2 separate regions of the Homo sapiens genome follow, and region 1 is linked to region 2. The links are contacts of gene promoters, found by promoter capture Hi-C in human tissues and cell types (Jung and others, 2019). All regions are on one chromosome and are shown on one strand. The core of a region is centred on a gene start or on the middle of the fragment in contact, and the rest is flanking DNA. Distances in the headings are between cores, read along the strand shown.

Region 1 (6,131 bases), core at 2,723-5,222, 460 kb after region 2:
ATGGAAAAGAATAGAAAACTTCAACATTGATTATGCTGTTATAGACTGTATGTTCATGTCTCCCCAAAATTCATATGTTGGAGCCCTCAACCCTAGTGTGGTGGTGTTTGGAGATGTGGAGCCCTTGGGAGGTAATTAGGGTTAGATTAGGTCATGAGGGTGGGGCCCTCACGATGAGGTTAGTGCCTTACAGGAAGAGGAAGTGAGAGCTTCCTCACTCTCCATGTGCGTAGAGGAAAGGCGATGTGAACATGCAGTGGCCAACTGCAAGCTGGGAAGAGGCCCTCACCAGGCCCTGGCCATGCTGGCATCCTGATCTCAGACTTCCAGCATTTGGAACCGTGAGGAAATAAACTTCTGTTGTTTAAGCCATACTGTCTGGTATTTTGTTATGGCAGCTGAAGCTAAGACATTTGACAAACTGTTGACAAAAATGCAAAAGAAATTCAGTCAGGTATTCAGCAAATGATGCTGGAGCATTTTGACAATATATTGTTTTGTGTGTAGTAAAATATATATAACATGAAATTTGCCATTTTAACAGTTTTTAAGTGTACAGTCTAGTGGCATTACACTCACAATGTTGTATAGCCATAACCACAATTTCTAAAACATTTGCATTATTTCAAACAGAAACTGTATTGCCATTAAGCAGTAACTACTCATTCCCCCCTCCCAACAGCCTATGGTAACCTCTTATCTAGTTTGTCTCTGTGAGTTTTGAATGTTGTGAATATTTCATGTCAGTAGTGTGACAACATTTGGCCTTTTGTGTCTGCCTTATTTCACTTAGCATGATGCTTTCAGCTTTCATCTGTATTGTAACAAGTATCAAGACTTTCTTTTCTGGCTGTTTAATCCATTCATCTGTTGATGTACACTTGGGTCGTACACCTTTTGGCTGTTGTGAATAATGCTTCAGTGAACACTGGTATATCATTATCTGCTCAAAGTTCCTGTTTTCATTTCTTTTGGATATAAACCTAGGAGTAGAATTGTTTTATCAAAGTGTATTTCTTTTAGCTTTTTGGGGTACCACTGAATTATTTTTAATGTGTATATATACACAGATATTTGTTTTTGAGACAGAGTCTCACCGTCACCCAGGCCAGAGTGCAGTGGCACGATCTCGGCTCACCACAGCCTCTGCCTCCTGTGTTCAAGTGATTCTCCTGCCTCAGCTTCCCGAGTAGCTGGGACTACAGGCGCATGCCACAGTGCCCAGCTAATTTTTGTGGCTTTAGTAGAGACGGGGTTTCACCATGTTGGCCAGGCTTGTCTTGAACTCCTGACCTCAGGTGATCACCCACCTTGACCTCCCAAAGTGCTGGGATTACAGGCGTGAGCCACCGCACCCGGCCGTACCTACTCTTTCTTTTGTTGCTTATCCATTTTATGTCATAGTTAAGAATCCATCACCAAACCCAAAGTTTTCCTTATGTTTTCTTCTGAACATTTCTTCTAAACATTTTATTGTTTTAGCTCTTATTTTCAGTTCATTTTTGTGTATAGTCAAAGTAGGGATCTAACTTTATTTTCTAACTTTATTTTCATGTGGAAATCCAGTTAACCCAGCATCATTTTTTTGGTCATTTGTCATCATTTCAAACAGAAACTCTATCACCATTAAGCAGTAACTACTCATTCCCATTCCCACCAGCCTGTGGTAACCTCTAATCTATTTTGTCTGTGAGTATGACTGTTGTATCTCATGTCAGTAGCGTGACAATATTTGGCCTGCATTAACTGAAAGAAAAGGCTTTTCTTTCTCCCAGTGAATAGAATTGACGCCCTTGTCAAAAATCAGTTGACCATAGGCAGTGTATTTTTGGGCTCTCACTTGTATTCCGTTTGTCTGTATGTCTACACCTATGACATGACCCACTGTTTGGATTATTGTAGCTTTCTAATAAGTTGTGAAATTGGACGTTTTGAGTCCTCTGACTTTGTTCTTCTTTTTAAAAATTGTTTTCGCTATTCAGGGCCCTTATAATTCCACGTGACTTTAAGGATCAGCTTTTTATTTTGGTAAAAATGCTGATGGAATTTTGATAGGGATTGTGTTAAATCTGTAGATCATTTTGGATGGTATTAGCCTTTTAAAAATATGACATCTCTCAAACTGTGAACATGAGATACTGTTTCCTTTATTTATGCCTTCTTTAATATTTTTCATCAGTATTTTGTAGTTTTTAGTATACAAGTCTTGCACCTTCTTGGTTAACTTTATTTCTAGATAGTATTTTATTCTTTTAGATGGTGCTATAGGTAGAATTGTTTTCTTAATTTTCTTTTCAGATTGTTCTTTGCAGGTGTGTAGCAACACAACGGATTTTTGTGTGTTGATGTATCCTGCAACTTTGCAGAATTCATTCATTAGCTATAGTATCTTTCTTGTAGTTTCTTTATGATCTATCTTTAGGATTATGTCACCTGTGAGTAGGCATAGTTTTATGTCTTCCTTTGCAATGGATGCCTCTCTTTCTTTTTCTTGTTTGGCTGGAACTTCTACTGCAGTGTTAAATAGCACTGGCAAAAGTGGGTATTTTTGTCTTCTTCCTGATGTTAAGAGGAAAGCTTTCTTTCATCAGTGAATATGATGTAAAGCTGTGAATTTTCTATATGTGCCCTTTATCATGTTGAAGAAGTTCTATTCTGTTTTGTGTTTTCTGAATGTATTTGTCCTGAAAGGGGTTGGATTTTGTCAACTGCCTTTACTGCATCAACTGAGATGATCGTGTCCTTTTTTTACTTGTTTTATTAATGAAGTGTATTACATTCATTTTCTTTTCTTTTTTTTTTTAAAAACATTGATTTTCTTATGTTGAACCACACAGGCATTTCCAGGATAAGTCCCCCTTGGTCACTTGGTCATGGTGTATACTCCTCTTAATATACCATTAAATATATTTTACTGGTATTTGTGTGTGTGTGTATGTGTTTGTGTAGCTTTGTATCTGTATTCATACGCATCATTCATTCATTCATTTATTCATTTGCATTTGTATTTTTTTTTTAAAAGAGTCTCACTCTGTTGCCCAGACTGGAGTGCAGTGGCACAATTATGGCTCACTGTAGCCTCGAACTCCCAGGCTCAAGTGATCCTCCCCACTCATCCTCCTGAGGGGGCTATAGCTGTATACCACCATGCCCACTATGCCCAGCTATCTTTTTTTTTTTTTTTTTTGGTGGAAACAGGGTCTCACTATGTTGCTCATGCTGGTCTTGGACTCCTGGCATCAAGTGATCCACCTTGGCTTCCCAAACCTCTGGGATTACAGGTGCTATCTACCATGCCCAGCCTCAGTCTAAAACTATTAACTGTAAGAACTGTCAGTTTCTCCCTTGCATTCTGTGTTTGCTTTACATGTTTCAGGATGCTGCTTGGTACATATATAGTTATAATTTTTATATCTTATTGATGGAACGACCCTTTATTCATATATAGTATCCTTCTTTGTCTCTTGTAACAGCTTATGACTTAATCTATTTTGAGTGAAATTAGTATAGCCACCCCAGTTCTCTTTTGGTGGCTATTTTCATGGAATATCTTTTATCAGCCTTTCAGTTTTAATTTATTTGTGTCTTTGGATTTTAAGTCAGTTTGTTTTAGACAATGTGTAGTTTGATCATATTTTAAAAAAATCTATTCTGAAGCTGGGTGGTTGACACCTGTAATCCCAGCACTTTGGGAGGATCTCTTGAGCCCAGGCCTTGGAGACCAGCCTGGTCTACAAAGTGAGACTCCGTTTCTACAAAAAAAATTAAAAAAAAAAAAATAGTTGGGTGTGGTGGTGTGCGCTGTGGTTCCAGCTACTTGGGAGGCTGAGGCAGGAGGATCCCTTGAGCCCAGGAAGTCAAGGGTGCATTGAGTCCTGTTTGTGTCACTGCACTCCAGCCTGGGTGACAGAGCAAGACCCTGTCTAAAAAATAAATAAATCAATCAAATCCATTCTGCCAGCCTCTGTCTTCTGATTGGTGAGTTCAAGCAATTATCATTTAAAGTAATCACCAACAAGGAAACACTTCTGCCATATTGCATTTTGTTTTCTGTATATTGTATACCTTCTTTGGTCCCATATTCCCTTTATTACTGCCTTCTTTGTGTTTCATTTTTTTTTTTTTTTTTCAAGACCAAAGTCTTGCTCTGTTGCCCAGGCCAGAGTGTAGTGGTATGATCTTGGTTCACTGCAACCTCCTCCTCCTGGGTTCAAGCAATTCTCATGCCGCAGCCTCCCAAGTAGCTGGGACTACAGGCACGTGCCACCACACCCAGCTAATTTTTGTGTCTTTAGTAGAGATGGTGTTTTGCCATGTTGGCCAGGCTCGTCTTGAACTCCTGGCTTCAAGTGATCCACCCATTTCGGCCTCCCAAAGTGCTTGAGATTACAGGCATGAGCCGACCACACCTGGCCTGATTTTTATATTTTTATTATTTTATATTATATATTATTCCCTTCTCATTTCCTTCTGTGTACATTTTTAAGATATTGTCTTTGTAATTAAACATGAGGATTACTTTCACTTTCTAAATTCATGACAATCTAGTTTAAATTGATTCCCTCATAACTTCAATATCATATGAAAACCTTGCTTCTACCTAGCACCTTACTCATCCCCTTTATGTTGTCACAGATTATGTCTTTATACATTGTGTGCCCATAATGTAAATTTATATTTAGTTCTTATCCATTTGTCTTTTAAGTCCTGCAGGAAGTAAAAAAATGGAGTTACAAAGCAAACATAATGACCCTGGCTTTTATATTTGTCTATATAGTTAACTTTATTGGAAGTCTTTATTTTTTCCTCCAGATTTGAGTCTAGTTTCTTTTTATTTCATCTTGAAAGACACCTTTTAGTGTTCCCTGTATAGCAGGCCTAGTAGTAACAAACTCAGCATTTGTTTATCTGGGATTATCTTCATTTCTCTTTCATTTTGAAGGACAGTTTTACCAGCTAGAGAATTCTCAGATGATAGTGTTTTTCTTTCAGGAATTTATATATGTCATCCATCTGTCTTCAGGCCTTCAATTGATTTCTGCGGAGATATGAGCTCCTGATATTAATGAGGGTCTCTTGTAAAGTAAAAATGCCACAAAACTTTCCCACCATTTGAAGTCGCCTTTTTCCTGATTTAGCATTCACTTGGTTACTGTAAACCTTTAATTATTTTCCAGAGTTCTAACAAGGTTGGTTTTTATAGTTCTTTTTTTTTTTTTGGTGTTTCTGTGTGGGGACAGTTGGGAGCTGTGTACTCCACCATTTGATTATGTCACTCAACACTGTTAAGTGAATGGACCAGTTGTCCATTCGAGAACAACAACAAAATGAGATATGCAAAGAAACAGGAAAAATGTGACCCATGCACAGGACTATCAATAGGCAACACAATAATAACTGCCATTTTAGTTGGCAGAAACTGGGTTGTCTGGTGCAGATCAATGTATATTGTGTAATTTGAGGAAGAGCCAGTAAAATAATGAAAAATGAACAAAACCTTGGGAAACGGATATCATTAGGTGCACCAGCATACACAAACGGGAGTATCAATATGAGAGAATAGAAAGGGAAAGAAAAATTTTTTGAAGAATTCGCAGAAACGCCCATAATTTGTTGAAGAAAACTAATATATTCATCCAAGAAGCTCAGCAAACTCATAGGAGGATAAATGCAAAGAGACTTATACCCAGACACGTCATAATGAAAGATGTTTTTATCATGCTCTTATTTGACCTGCCTTATAAAAGTGATAATACAAGTGCTGGTGAAGATTTAGAGAAACTGAATTATTCATACATTTTTGATGGTAAGTAAAATGCTACAGTCATTCTAGAAAATAGTTTGTCAGTTCCATTTAAAACTAAAAACAAACTTAGCATGTGAACCACTAGTTACACTGTTAGACATTTATCCTTGAGAAATAAAAACTTAATGTTCCATCAAAAAAATTTTATAGCAGTTTTATGGGTCATAGCCCAAACCCGAATAATCCAGATGTTCTTGAATGGATAAATAATGTGTAGTGTGTCCATACCATGAAGTGTTACCCAGTATTAAAATGGAATGAATGACTAATACATGTAACATTATGGATGAATCTCAAGAGATTAAGCTGAGTTTTAAAAAACCCA
Region 2 (6,182 bases), core at 2,826-5,325:
TGCCTCTGCAGGAGGGGAGGAGGGCAGCAGGGAGCATGGGGGGCTGCACCCTGCTTTGCCCCTATTCCCTGGCTTTCTTCTCCCAGGCTGTCCTGGAGGATGGGAAAAATGAGGAGGAAGGCCCTGTCCTGCATGAGGAAACACAGCTGTACCCCCATCCCTGATGCCCAAACCCCATCCCTGCACCCTTGTCTTCAGAGCAGTAGCTTCCATCCGATGCCAGGGCCTCAGGCATATGTTGGCTGCAAGGGCCACAGCCTGGTGTCCCAGCCGAACATCTGCACCGCCACTGGCAGCAAGATGCCTTCCTGCCATCCACAGAGCACACACAGTCGGCCCTTCTGCTGGCACAGCCATGCCTGGTGCTCCTCCCCAGACCCATAGGACTCCCAGACATCAACTAAAGCTGACGAGACCCAGAGAGTATCTCAGCGTCTGTGCATGGTGCCACACATTACTCTGGGATCTGGGCTGGGATGTCCTGAGGGCACCTGGAGCCCGAGGTGGGGGGACTCACCAGTGGGTGGGCAGGCTCAGGGCAACCTCCCTGGAAGCCCTCCTTAGCCCCACCCTGGACCCACACCACTGGCCCAGAGAACGGGCTGGAGCAAGCCAGAGGGCCAGGGCTGGGGAGCTCCCGCATCCTCTCTACCGGTTCGAGTCCATAGGCTATGAGAACCTGTTTCCTCACCTGTGAAATGGGCCAAGACCATGACCCTTGCAGACTTGTTGGAAAAGATGAAGTGAGTAGGCACAGCACAGGGGCAGTGCACTGTGAGCCCCCATGGGGTGCTACTGCTGGTATTAGCCTTATCCAGTTAAGACGAGGGGACCTAGAGGGTCTTCGGCCAGGCTGCAGAGGGGGAAGGTCTCAGGGGAGATGGCAGCTTCCGGGCCTTCCCTTCCCCTTGGCACCCCAGGTTCCATTTTAACAGATATCATAATTTTTAATTGGTTTTCTCCTCCACTGGCTAAAAGGCTATTAGCTCCCCGCTAGGTGATCGCATCCCATTTTCTTCACACCACCAAGGAAACAGTGATTTCCTCAGCCTGTCCCTAAAGTGATTCTGCAGAAGAAAGGCAATTTAGTGAATCAGCTCAATGCACTTCCCCATTTGCTCTCTGCTTGCAGGCCCCCAGCAGGCACAGCCCACCAGTGAGGGCTGCAGGCAGCTTCTGGAGGCCAGACAGGGTTAGTGAGCTGGAGTGGAGGAGGAAGCAAGCCAGGCCCAGGTGAACCTGGTGAAGCCTCTGGCCAGAGAAAGGGGAGAAGGAAAAGGATGAAGCAGGGGGAGCTGTACCCCTGGCCTGAGCTGCCCGCGCTGATACCTGGTGCTTCAGGCAGGGGTGGGCTGCCTAGGCCCTCTGCAGAGGGTGGTCTGGCAGCTTGGATCCGGGCCCTGCCAAGTCACAGTGCCCAGCTCTTCCATGCTGGGAACAGAAGGCCCCGGGGCCCAGGGGCAGAGAGGGAATGTCCTTCCTTGCTGCAAAACAGGACCCAAGAAGTCAGGCCAGGAAGACAAGAGACAAGAGGCTTGCTGAGGAGCTGTGGGAGGTTGAGGTGCAGGGTCAGCCTGGGACCTGGGGGGAACCCCAGAAGCTGAGACTCAGTTTCCTCATCCAAGCAACGGGGACAGCTGTATCTGTGTTGAGCAATGAAATGCCAGAAACCTTTAAGAGCAACTTTTAAATGAATGTAACTTTTAGATGGAGGTTCTCTCACTCTGGTTCCAGCATACCTGGGGCTGACAGGCTATGCCCTGCAGGTATGAGGAGTGTGTGTCCCTATATACACACGTGGCGTCCCTGTGTGTATGAGTGATGAGAGGGGCTGGGGTCCCTGTGTGGACGTGGGTGAGGCAGGGTGTGAAGGAACCACGCTGTGCATGTCCACAGCCTTGGCAGCAAGTGCTGTGAGAAGGGGCAGGAGTGTGTCTTGGTGATCCAGTGTGAGTGTGCATGTGTGAGCTGTGGAAGAACCCTCATCCTCTAGAGACCCAGTCTGTGCCTGTCATCAGGCCCAGCCACTAAAGTGCAGCGTCCGCAAGAGGGCGCTTGAGGCCGAGCTGTCCCCTTGGGGTGGTTGGGGAGCACCGAGGGGCTCACTGGGGCGGTCCTTGGCAGCTCCAAGAGTGCGGCTCGAACCTCCGGAGCTGTGGCTCCTGGGAAAGAGCTCTGCAGCCTCTTCAAAGGCCCCAGCTGTCTACTCCAGGGAGTGGGGCTGCCTCTTCACTCCCAGTGCCTCCAACTGTGGTGTCCGGGTTATCCCAGGGGCTAGGGGCTCACCATCTCTGGATTCGGGAAGCTGTCTGTGGGCCAGGGGTCTGGGCACGGAAAGCTACCTGCATGCCTGCTGAGTGCCACAAGCCGGCCCCCAGAGCCTGGCCCCCACAGCCTCACTGGCCACCCCAACTGAACGCAAGGCTGTGGAAGGGTGTGGGGAAGTCCTCTGCCCAGCACACCAGCAGCAGTTCACACCTGGCCCCCTGCCCACAACCTCAAAGCCAAAGCCACAGCCCAGAATCCCAAGACAGCGTCAGAGCGCCTTGTTTGCTTCTGCCCCGTGTCTTCCCCCTGCAGCACTGGGACCCCAAAGTCCTAACACTCAGAAAAGATAGAAAGGCAAGGGCTTCTCCCCTGTCCCTCGCTAGGTGGACTGGGGACCCGCTCTGGCCTCAGCATATGCTGAGCTGAGGCGCAGGTCACACAAATGAAGTCTCAGGCAGGCCTGGAAACTCAGTTTGTGCAGGGCCTGGGGCCAGAGACAGGGTGACTGACCATGGCTTCTTCTGTTCCCAAAGGCTGTGGGGAGAGAAAGCCCTTTGTAAGGAGTGAGGGAGGATGGCCAGGGCTCCTTCCCTCTTAGAGGGAAACTTGGTTCATACACAAGCGCTTGGAGGGGATCAAGTCAGGGCCAGTTTGAGGGACACTTAAACGCGTGCCAAGGGGTCAAAGATTCCACAGCCTTGCGGCTCACTCTGCCAGAGTTTGGGTGGGGTCGATGACCATCTTTGCAAGGCCACACCTAATGCTGGGATCCTAAGGCACCTGAGGTTTCACCAGGCCCAGCACCAACGCTGGCTGGCGGCGCAAACCCCTGCCCCACCCCAAGCCCTGGGCCTCCTATGGCCGCATCTTCAGCATCTCTGCCAGGCAGCGCCACACGACTCCAGGGCTGCCGGGTGGGACGCCTATCACGGCGGCCCCTCGGGGGGAGCCACCCCAGAAACCACGGTTTTTAGGTGTTTAAAGACAGGGCGGCAAAAACGCACGAGGGAAAAGCAATCTTTTCAAAAGAGCCTCCGAATCCCTCGGCTGGCCAGGACGGCAGAGCTGGGGGAGGAACGCACGGACGCTGAGCGGGAAAAGGAAACCAGGACGGAGCCGTCTCCTGCCGAAACAGAACTCTCCGCACGAATCGCGGGCTTTCGGGGCTCCCTGACCCGTCCGCCAGGTCGGCCCCGAAACGGCTGTCCCGTTTGCTCCAGGACGCGGCTTTGGCGCAGGGCGCGGCCAGATTGAGACCTGCGGCTATGGCTAGGGTTCTGAGCACCGACCCCCGCGGCCCGGCCCGCGCTCCGCTCCCGCCCGAGACCCGCCCAGCCCCGGCCCGAGGCGCCCGGCCCGAGGCGTCCTGCCCTTCGCCCGCCGCCCGCCGCAGCCACTGCGCTCCCAGCCGAGGCCGGGTGGCCGGCGACCGCACAGCCCGCTGCCCACGGCAAACAGAAAGGCGCTTCTGAACGCGCCCGCTCCGCTGCTCGGCGCCAACTTCGCCCTGGCCCCTGCGGGAGCCGGCGGCCGGCAGAACTCACCTTTGCCTAGCAGCGGCAGCAGCAGCAGCAACAGCAGACGCAGCCCCGCGGCACCGGACGTCGCCTTCGCCATCGCCCGTGCGCGCTGGGGCCACGGCTGGAGGGACTGCGGCTAGGGCCGGCGGGTCTGGATGGCGGGTGCGGCGCTCAGTCTGGCCGCCCCATCCCCGCCCGGGGCGCGGCGGACGCGACGGACACTGGGGGCGCGACGCACGTTCCGGGGCACTCAGCGCTGCTGCGCGCCCTGCTTCGGTCGCGGGACTGAAGCGAGGTAAGCGCCGGCTGCGCCGGAGGAGCGGGTAGGGGCGGGGCGGGGCGGGGGCGGTCCAGGGGTGGGCCAGGCGGGGCCGGAGGCGGGTGGGGTGCGGGAAGGGGCGGGGCTCCAGTGCTTGCTCTGGCTGCGCGGGGTGCGGCCGGGGCGCGGCGCGTGTAGGAGCTCAGTGCGGGACGCGCGGCTTGGGCCGGGTGGGGCTTGGGGAGGAGCGGGGTGCGGGAGCGGGGTGCGGCCGAAAAGGGCCCGGCAGGAGCCGGGTGCGGACCCCGAGGTGCGCGGCGGGGATGGAACCCAGGAGCCCGGGTCCGCGCACCTACGCAGAGCCGCTCTTCCTACCCGGTGCGCGCCCGCTTGCAGTCCCTGCCTTTTGCCCTTTCCGCTGCACAGAGAGGGCAGGGATGCTACGCGGGATGCAGGTCTGGCCGACTGGCTCGGGGTGCGACCCCGCGGACTCAGAGAAGGGCGCCCCGCCTCCAGGCTCTCCGCGGAGCGCTTGCTGCGCCATTTCTCAGAGGCGAGAGGCGCAGTGGGAGCGCGGCCTCTGCTGGGGCCGGAGGCAGGAGGCGGGGAAGAGCTGAGCAGGGGAAGAGAGGCAGAATAGCCTTTTTCAGCATCCTGGGGTAGTAGAGAGGGTAGGGTCCTGGAAGGGCAGTTTGTGATTCCCCCCTCCAGCACTGGTCCAACCCTTGGAAACCGGAAACTGGCTCCGGCGTCCTTTCAGAGACCTGGTGCTGGTGGCCCTTGCATCCCTTACACAGGAGAACTCTCAGGAGATGGGCTGGCAGAGTCGGAGAGCGAGTAGCGAGGAGGAGGAAAGAATCCAATTTTCCCCCAAAGAAATGATGGAAATGATGCGCATAAACACATTTACCCCTAATAGGGAGCAGCAACTGGACCTGAGAAGGGGTTCTGGGTGAGGTTGGATGTGGGCTCAGTGGGGAAGTCCTCTGTTCTCGCCCCATCCCCGGCTGCTTTTTGAGGTCTGGCCTGCACTTAGGCGCAGAGGGATGGAAGAAGGGAAGCCCATGGGCCCTTGAGGAGGAAAAGCCAGGGAACCTGGGCCCAGGGCACCCTTGAGCCAGCCGCTCCCTTGCTTGCTGTGTGCAGAACCCCGCCCTCTTGCCTGGCTGAGCTCAGGGCTGAATAAGTGATCTGCACATCACTGCAGATATGAAGTCAAAGTGAAGTCACCCTCACAGGCAGGAGGGGGAGCTGCCAAGACAGAGGCTGGCTTGCACTCAGCCAACCGTGATGTCCAGACCTGGCTTGCTGAGGGGCAGGTGGCCGGGGCACAGGCCTGCCAGCCCAGGAGAGACACTGTGGGCCACTGGACTCCGGCTGCCTGCCACACCCTTCCAGTTTATGGAGCTAGAGTTGGCCACAAGGGGCTCCCTTGGGTTCAGACAGGTTCCATCTCTGGTGCCAGTGGCTACCTAGGCTACACACTCAGGCCTGTGCCCAGGGAAGGGACCTGATAGGTAGGGAGGGGCTGGGGGCATCTTTTGGCTACAGACAAGCTCCTGTGATTGCCTCCTAGGTGAATGAAGAGAGAAGTGGGTAGGCTTAAATAGCCCCACCCCTGCACCTCCCGGGGACCACCCTGGCCAGCCCTTGGCTGACATTGATGTCTGGCTGGGCTCTGTGTGGCCATCTTAAGGGGCCATCTGGGGCTGTGCTCCTGCCTAGCCTACCTTAGGCCTTTCCACGCTCTCGCTCCACCCTCACCCTTGGGGGTCCTGAGTGAACACCTGACACTATGAGAGGGTGTCATTTACTCCTTGGAAAAAGGTCTGGGGGGCCCTCACATGGGTGTACCCTGTACACATGCATACATGCATACACCTGTGTTCCCATACGTGGACACACACGCACACAGATGCATACCTCCCTGCTACGTGCACGCCCAGGGATCTGACCAAAGGGTCGCTCAGCAGAGGACAGTTGTGAGGCCCAGAGCCTGCTGGCCTCAGGGACTGCGGGGAAAGGAGATTCAGCCCTGCCTGGGTGTAGGCTCAGTATCCAGAACATCAGGCAGCAGGAAGGAGCTCCTTGCCCAGCAGAGGGGAAGCGAGGCCACCCCCTGAGGTCTCACAAGG

Evidence for each region. Contacts are between HindIII fragments. The study calls those that stand out against the background at their distance.
Region 1: a contact is called between a fragment that was not itself captured here and the fragment with the promoter of RET in region 2, in 1 of the 25 tissues and cell types used here (aorta).

The regions. Positions count from the first base shown.
Region 1 is chr10:42,618,216-42,624,346 of GRCh38, reverse strand. The region is part of intron 4 of ZNF33B (zinc finger protein 33B); the gene reads left to right. Among named protein-coding and RNA genes, the nearest start is that of ZNF33B, 17 kb to the left of the region's middle. The HindIII fragment of the contact is 6,117 bases long and covers 914-6,131 here.
Region 2 is chr10:43,074,962-43,081,143 of GRCh38, reverse strand. It overlaps RET (ret proto-oncogene), which reads right to left and starts at 4,075. Exons shown (of 20, transcript NM_020975.6): 1 at 3,813-4,075. The coding sequence starts at 3,885. RefSeq lists enhancers at 2,730-3,720, 4,029-4,886, 4,752-5,018 and promoters at 3,853-4,151, 3,853-4,536. The HindIII fragment of the contact is 24,069 bases long and covers 1-6,182 here.